Regions from separate parts of the Homo sapiens genome. Here region 1 is linked to region 2. Evidence: promoter capture Hi-C in human tissues and cell types (Jung and others, 2019). All regions are on one chromosome and are shown on one strand. Each heading gives the region's core, a stretch centred on a gene start or on the middle of the fragment in contact. The rest is flanking DNA. Distances are from core to core; before and after follow the strand shown.

Region 1 (4,080 bases), core at 748-3,247, 160 kb before region 2:
CTTTCCCAAATGAAAAACAGGATGTAACCAGCGCCAGATAAGAACAGAACATTTCCAGTCCCACAAGAGACAACACATTTAACAATTACTCTTTAAAATGCCTAATAGCATTTTAAATGAGTCTAACAGTTCTTTAAATCTATGCCAAAGAAGAAAGAAGGGAGAAAAGTTACATTATTAGCTTCAGTGCCCAGGGTTCAAACAACAATAAAAGATTTAGGCTTTAAAAACAAAACTTATAATTAATTCTAAATAGTATAGTATTGTTTTCAATATTTATGTTGCTTAAAACTGGCTTTTGAATGATGTCCGTTAATAGGAAAAGGCTAGTTATAAAAGAACTAGGATGTGTGTAAAAGCAGCATGGACTCTCCGATTCGTCTCAGGAGGGTCTCCTGGCTGCCTCTGCAGTGAGATCGCATCACCAAGCAGCAATCTGGTCCCTCCTGTCTTCAGCCTGGGGCTATTTTTTCCCCTGGCTCCAGAAGCAGAGAGGCCAAGAAACCTCGAGCTTTTCTTCTCAAACAGGTTTACAGAACCAGTGTTTCCTTTCTGAGAAGCGAGACAACTGGGAGACAGGGAGGGTTGGGGGAAAGGAGAGTGACAATTGGAAGGAGAGGGGCACAATTTGGAGGGACAAAACGGGGAGCTGAGAAAAACAGCCTCCGAAAGCAGCCGGACCCTGCAAGGACCCTCCCACACCGCACCTCACTCCTCTCACACACACACCCCTCACCTAGAGGAGAGTCACCTCTCCAGAGCACCTGGGCCTTCATTCCCATCTGCAAGAGGGCAGGGCTCCCAGATACTCTGTGATGACGCGTGGGCCCCACCAAAATAGAACCGAACAGAACTGGTGGAGAAAGAATTTGTTTGAAATTTGTGGATCCACCATCACTGTGAAAAACACACCCCAGAAAGCAAATCACCACTCTAGACACTGACTTACAATGCAGAGGAGTTTACCATTTAGACCGGAAGGAGGTGAACGCGTGAGTCGATGCGGAGTTCACTGTTCAGACCGGAAGGAGGTGAACCCGTGAGTCCATGCGGAGGAGTTCACTGTTCAGACCGGAAGGAGGTGAACCCGTGAGTCGATGCGGAGGAGTTCACTGTTCAGACCGGAAGGAGGTGAACCCGTGAGTCCATGCGGAGGAGTTCACTGTTCAGACCGGAAGGAGGTGAACCCGTGAGTCGATGCGGAGGCGTTCACTGTTCAGACCGGAAGGAGGTGAACCCGTGAGTCCATGCGGAGGAGTTCACTGTTCAGACCGGAAGGAGGTGAACCCGTGAGTCGATGCGGAGGCGTTCACTGTTTAGACCGGAAGGAGGTGAACTCGTGAGTCCATGCGGAGGCGTTCACTGTTTAGACCGGAAGGGGTGAATGGGTGAGTTGATGCGGAGGAGTTCACTGTTCAGACCGGAAGGAGGTGAACCCGTGAGTCCATGTGGAGGCGTTTACTATTTCAACAGGAAGCGGATGATGAATCCCTGAGTCAAATGAAAGACAATGTTTGAAACTCTCAGGAATGTTTAGGAAGGCGTCATAAGAGATGAAGAGTGAGGGAATCAGAAACTCAGAAGGACCAGATTTGGGGCAGTATGCTTCGAGGCTGTTTTGTCCAGCCAACCCAACGCTGGAATCACCCCAAAAGCAGCGGCGGGGGAATTCCCACAAGGGAGTACTCTGAACTGTTCCAGGATGGGGTCGATTGGGATTCCAAAGAAAGAAGCCCTCATCAGCAGGGTGCTCAGTTCAGAGCAGTTATGAGGGGAGCTTACAGAGGCCACAGCGATCCTTGGAGAGAAAGGGGTGCTCTGTATGGACACAGGGAGGGGAACAACACACACTGGGGCCTGTCGGTGGGGCAGGGGGAGGGAGAACATCAAGATAAATAGTGAATACATGCGGGGCTTAAATACCTAAATGACGGGGTGATAGGTTCAGCAAACCACCGTGGCACATGTTTACCTATGTAACAAACCTGCGTGTCCTGCACATACATTCCAGAACTGAAAATTAAATTACATTTTTAAAAAGTATTTATATAATAACCAGAAAAAAAAAAAAGAGAGACTGGGCACAGTGGCTCAAACCTGTAATCCCAGCTCTTTGGGAGGCTGAGGCGGGCGGATCACCTGAGGTCAGGAGTTCAAGACCAGCCTGGCCAACGTGGTGAAACCCCGTCTCTACTAAAAATACAAAAATTAGCAGGGCGTGGTGGTATGCGCCTGTAATCTCAGCTACTCAAGAGGCTGAGACACGAGAATTGCTTGAACCCGGGAGGCAGAGGCTGCAGTGAGCTGAGACCACTCCACTGCACTTCAGCCTGGGTGACAGAGTGAAACTCCATCTCAAAAAAAAGGTGTTCTACCTGCGTGTGTCTGCAGTGAGGGGTTCAGGGATTATGGAATGTGAGAGTTTTAAGAAATTTGGTTAGGGGCCAGGGCCAGTTTCTTTCCGTGTTTCGGGCGACAACCTCGAGACCTTAATGAGTGTCTGGGAATGTTCGAGACTCCGGTTTGGGCCCGGTTTGGGTTTGGGCGTGCTGGGAGAAGCTTGCACCTGGCTGGGTGAAGAGCTGTCAGGACACTCTGTGATTCTTGGTCAGGGCACAGAAAGAAAGTGAAGTAGGGGAGAAGGGTTACTGGGGGACCCCACAGAGGCCATTGCAAAACTGGTGAGGTAGAGTTTCCGTAAGGACAGTAAGGACAGAACCAGGACCCCCAGGCAGAAATGGGAGGAATAGAAGGCAATATTCCGACCTCAGTTTCAGGTTCTTGGTCAGAACTGTGAGGAATCAGGGCAGTGTCTAAAACCTCAAACAGCGTCATGCTAGTGTAGACGTCCAAGCTTGGTGAGGAGCGATTCATAGTTAGCACTGTTGAGTGCTTACACCTGAAATTAAGTGATGCTCCAAGTACAAGTGTTATGTCATTTCATGCATACGACAGCCCTAGACAGCCCTGTGAAGCAGTATTATTTCCTTTTTTTTTTTTTTTTTTTTTGAGAGAGGGTATCGCTCTGTCGCTCAGGCTGGAATGCAATGGCACAATCACGGCTCACTGCAGCCTCGACCTCCCAGGCTTAAGTGATGCTCCCACCTCAGCCTCCTTAGTAACTGGGACCACAGGTGTGTGCCACCATACCTGGCTCATTCTTTTTATTTTTGGTAATAGTATTACTTGGGGTCTCACTATATTGCCCAGGCTGGTCTTGAGCGGGGCTCAAGCGATCCTCCTGCCTGGGCCTCCCAACTTGCTGAGGTTACCATGTACTGGCCCGGATATTATTTTCAAACACATTTTCCTGATGAGGGGACTGAGGCATGGGGAGACAAGCTGGTACAGTTAGTAAGTGGTGAGTGGTGGAGCTGAGATTTGAACCCAGCAGACCTGGCTTTACTGCCTTTGTGCTTCATCTTCGTATCTGGCTAACCCAGAGGCAGATGTACAATGGAGCTAGAGAAACTTAAGTTTCAGGCCCTTATTTATTTGATACTCTCTAAGACACTGGGCCTAATTTTATCATTTGTAATTTTTAAATTATTTTTTCTTTTTTTTTTTTTTGAGACAGAGTCTCTCTCTGCCACCAGGCTGGAGTGCAGTGGCGCCATCTCGGCTCACTGCAACCTCTGTCTCCCGGGTTCAAGTGATTCTCCTGCCTCAGCCTCCCAAGTAGTTGGAATTACAGGCATGCGCCACCACGCCTGGCTAATTTTTGTATTTTTAGTAGAGACGGGGTTTCACTGTGTTAGCCAGGATGGTCTCAATCTCTCGACCTCGTGATCTGCCCGCCTCGGCCTCCCAAAGTGCTGGGATTACAGGCGTGAGCCACTGCGCCAGGCCTTTTTTTTTTTTTTTTTTTTTTTGAGACAGAGTTTTGCTCTTGTTGTCCAGGGTGGAGTACAATGGCGCAATCTCAGCTCACCGCAATCTCTGCCTCCTGGGTTCAAGCGATTCTCCTGCCTCAGCCTCCTGAGTAGCTGGGATTACAGATCCACACCACCACACCCGGCTAATTTTTGTATTTTTAGTAGAGACGGGGTTTCTCCATGTTGGTCAGGCTGGTCTCGAACT
Region 2 (4,330 bases), core at 138-2,637:
GGCCATCGGAGCCAGATGTGGGCAGGAGGAAAAGTGCACGGGGGTGGGAAGAGACGAGCGAAGCCTGCTGGTTCCAGGCTGCCGGCGCTCCCCGGGGGCTGCAGGCCATGCTCCATGCTCCACGCTCCATGCTCCATGCTCCACGCTCCACGCTCCATGCTCCATGCTCCCTACAGCTATGGCGGGCAGGAAGGTGGGGGCTGGGGCGAGGCCCAGGCGCGGGGCTGACGGTGAGCCCCGGGACCATTTGCATTTCATCCCAGGTCCCAAGGAAACCATTACAGGGCTTCCAACAAGCAAACAGCAAGTTTTTTTAGGTTAGAAGATGGGCCGGACAGCTGCATGGAGAATGGATTTGGGGAGAACAGAAAAATCTATTAGATTTGGGAATCCCGCGAAGGGCTGCCAGGGGTTTGGAGCAGATGGCGGCAGAGGAGATGAAATGCAGGGAGAGCGGGAAAACAGGAGAAAGAACCACCCCCTCGCCCTGCAGCTCGCCGGTGGATTGGATGAAGAGCGGAAGGGAAACAGGAATCAAGAATGAGTCTCGCCCGGCGCGGTGGCTCACGCCTGTAATCTCAGCACTTTGGGAGGCTGAGGCGGGCGGATCATCTGAGGTCACGAGTTCGAGACCAGCCTGACCAACATGGTGAAACCCCGTCTCTACTAAAATACAAAAATTAGCCGGGCGCAGTGAAGGGCGCCTGTAATCTCAGCTACTTGGGAGGCTGAGGCAGGAGAATCCCTTGAACCCGGGAGACGGAGGTTGCAGTGAGCCGAGATCGCGCCATTGCACTCCAGCCTGGCAACAGAGCGAGACTGTCTCCAAAAAAAAAGAAAAAAGAAAAGAAAGAGTCTCCTAGGTTTTTTGCTAGAGTAATTTGAGTTGGGGGTATTGCCATCTCCAGAGATAAGAGGAGAGGAAAAGAAAGGGAAGAGACTGGTGTCTTGATCACAATGTAAGCATGTTAATATAGAAAAGACTTAGCCAGATATTGTAAGGAAACATATTTACATGAAGTTTTGAAATAAAATAAAAAATGCAATTTAGGAAATCACCGCCAGACACTTGCTTTCTTGAGAGTGTATTACTTGCCCATCTGCCCGTTTTCAACATTTGAGGCCAGTGGCCAGCCACGGGTCACCGCAGGGCGAGGGCTACAAGTCTCCCGGCGAGGCCGGCTCCGGCCTGGTCCCAGGATGAGAACACGCTTCCCCTCCCTGACTATCTAACCCCTTTGACCGACACATTCCAAGTAGTGAGCAACACAACCCCCTTCTCCCCATTTGAAAAAAGTTCCATGAAACAAGACTCACCCCTGTTACCGCGAAGCACTCTGCTATTTCCAATGCCACCTCCTCCCAAACGTAAAACAAAGGAGAAACTGCAGTGGAAACGTGGACTGCCCTGCGCCCCCTCCCAAGACCCACCCTCCGGACTGACGCGGTCTAATCAGGCTACAGCCACCCATCAGCTCCGCCAGGGTTAGGGAGGGCGTGGCCGGCCCCGCCCTGGGGCGCCGCCCTGGAGCCACCTGGCCCGCGCGTTCACTCTCTGCCCGGAGCCGCCTGGCACCTGGGCGGCGCGCTCACCCTCAGCCCGGGGCCCCCAGGCACCCGGCCCGCACGCAAACCCTCAGCCCGGGGCCCCCTGACCCCCGCGTTCACCCCTCAGCCCGGCCGCCGGGCACTGCGCATCCGCCACGTGGCAGCGCCTCCAGAGCCCAGACGCCCGGCGTTGGCACGTGGTGAGCGCTCAATAAATGTCTGTTGAACAAATACGCGTGGGTGTAATCACATTTACCCTTTTAGGCCGGACGCGGTGGCTCACGCCTGTCGTCCCAGCACTTTGGGAGGCCGAGACGGGGGGATCACATGAGGTCAAGCGTTCGAGACCAGCCTGGCCAACATGGCGAAACCCCGTCTCTACCGAAAAATACAAAAATTAGCCAGGCATGGTGGTGCTCGCCTGTAATCCCAGCTACTCAGGAGGCTGAGGCAGGAGAATCGCTTGAACCCGGGATGCGGAGGTTGCAGTGAGCCGAGATCGCGCCACTAAGCTCCAGCCTGGGTGATAGAGCGAGGCTCCATCTCAATAGAACAAAACAAAACATTTACGCTTTTGCAGATCGAGGAAAAAAATCAAGCGGAGGAGGCAGTTTTTACCCCCCGAAATAGAGGTTGACTCGAACGCAAACCCCCACACCTTTCCCACCCCACCCTACCCCCAGTTGTTTCAAACACCCCCAGTGTTTGTTTTCTTTTTTCTTTTTCTGGCCATTAATGTGACTGTATTGCTAAAGGCAACACAACTCACTTTGAAAGCAATGGTCAGTCAACGCTCACTATTGGCTACAGTCTAGTGAAATGTAATAGGTCGTATAAGTACACCCAGACCATTAGAACGAAACCCAGATCGATATTTAAAAACCTCCTAAATGTTGACTTGAAGCTTTTCTGCATATATATCTGGGAGCAGTTCTCCACTTTTTTCTTTTTTTAAATCTGTTTCTGAATAAGCTTCAATTTTGAGGTTGGCCAATAAAATATAATTTTCCTTCCTTCCTTCCTTCCTTCCTTCCTTCCTTCCTTCCTTCCTTCCTTCCTTCCTTTCTTTTCTTTCTCTTTTTTTTTCTTTTTTGAGACGGAGTCTTTCTCTGTCCCCCAGGCTGGAGTGCAGTGGCACCGTCTCACCTCACTGCAACCTCCGCCTATTTGGTTCAAGTGATTCTCCTGCCTCAGCCTCCCCAGTAGCTGGGATTACAGGCATGCACCACCACGCACGGCTAATTTAGTATTTTTAGTAGAGACAGGGTTTCTCCATGTTGGCAGGCTGGTCCGACCTCAGGTGATCCGCCTGTCTCGGCCTCCCAAAGTGTTGGGATTACAGGCGTGAGCCACTGCGCCTGGCCAATAGGATATAATTTTCAATGAAGGAAATATTTATTATTCCCTGATCTCCTCCAGTAGGCATAGCAGGACCTCTCCATTTGAAATCCGATTTCAATAAAGCTTCCTTAGTTCCTTACCTTAGAATGTATTATTTGCAGACGAGGGTCAGAAAGCCGATTTACCAGTCAGAAGGACTTCCCTCAACTTCCCTCCTTCTGTCTCTATGGCGCCTTGCTGTGGCCTCTTTAGAAACTACAGGGGAATTCCACCAGCCTTTTTTTTTGTTTCCCTTGGAGATAAAAATGTTAACATTTGGGTTTCGATAAGAAATACTTCAATGAACCGAAGAATGTTGACCAGAACCTTCTTTGTAAGCCTTTAAGTGGCAATGTCATTGAAAGCCCCTTTCCTCACTAGATGGAAACACACACACTTAGCTCAAGCCGAGGATCCTTTCTTTGGGTTGTCGGAAACCACCCTTTATCACTCCCTTAACCATTCACACAGTGCATCCCATAAACTAGATTGATTTATAATCGCCTCCCCTACCACTGATTCCATTTGATCGCTTGGGTGTGGCTCTGTTTGGGCATTAGAGACAGCATGTTTAGAAAATCTAATTTTACATTTCACACTCCACCTCTTCCATAGATTATTTTTGCTCCCATTATCGTTTAGCTTTCCTTTCCATGGGCCTGAAGAAGAAACCAAAACGAATGAACTCATCTGTTGTGATATGAACTCAGCTCAAAGGAAATTGAATTTCTCCTAAATGAGCTCGAGAACCAATTAAACCGTGAAACAGAAGTGGGCTGTCTTGAAATTGACCACAAAGAGGTTATGCATAGAAAAAGTGTTGTCCATTGCTGGAATTTTAGTCATAGTGATTCTTCTGCCAGTAACATCATGGTCACTTAAAACACTTGTATTTCGACCATTTTATCTGTGTTACAAATCAATATTTTCCTTAAAACCCTTAAAATGCAAAAACTATAGATATGCATTAATTCACTCTATACAGATTTGAGTTTCTCCCCTACACAGGCGGAGGTTCTAGGCCCTGGTGGATACGTATTCCTGGCCTCCTGGGGTTTGAATGCGGAATGGCCAGGTCAGAACAGGAGGGTAAGAACTAGATTGAGGTGAGTAACTCACTTGTAAACAAAACACCCTCAGTAATCAGTATTAGTAATATTTTAACCTGGCATGTAAAAGAATCAAAATCAACGCAACAATTTATAGAGAACAAAATATCCACATTGTAAATAAAGACAGTCAGAGGATACCAGCCAAATAATCATGATTGTAAGTGTCACAATGCAGCTATTATTAGCACAATGAAGGAGAGGTGCGTGGTGCTGTGGGAGCCACATAGGAGAGCCGGGAAGTTAGGGGAGGTTTCCCTGATCTGCAGGAATCAGCGTGGACGGCAGAGCCT

Evidence for each region. Contacts are between HindIII fragments. The study calls those that stand out against the background at their distance.
Region 1: a contact is called between a fragment that was not itself captured here and the fragment with the promoter of ZFP42 in region 2, in 1 of the 25 tissues and cell types used here (stomach).

What each region holds. Positions count from the first base shown.
Region 1 is chr4:188,156,989-188,161,068 of GRCh38, reverse strand. LINC02434 (long intergenic non-protein coding RNA 2434) reads right to left here and starts at 1,016. Exons shown (of 2, transcript NR_187427.1): 1 at 967-1,016; 2 at 1-568. RefSeq lists an enhancer at 620-1,819. The HindIII fragment of the contact is 3,258 bases long and covers 369-3,626 here.
Region 2 is chr4:187,992,828-187,997,157 of GRCh38, reverse strand. It overlaps ZFP42 (ZFP42 zinc finger protein), which reads right to left and starts at 1,387. Exons shown (of 4, transcript NM_174900.5): 1 at 1,318-1,387. LOC124900881 (a long non-coding RNA gene) reads left to right here and starts at 4,279. Exons shown (of 3, transcript XR_007058513.1): 1 at 4,279-4,330. RefSeq lists enhancers at 329-623, 238-1,219, 1,220-2,199. The HindIII fragment of the contact is 6,716 bases long and covers 1-2,766 here.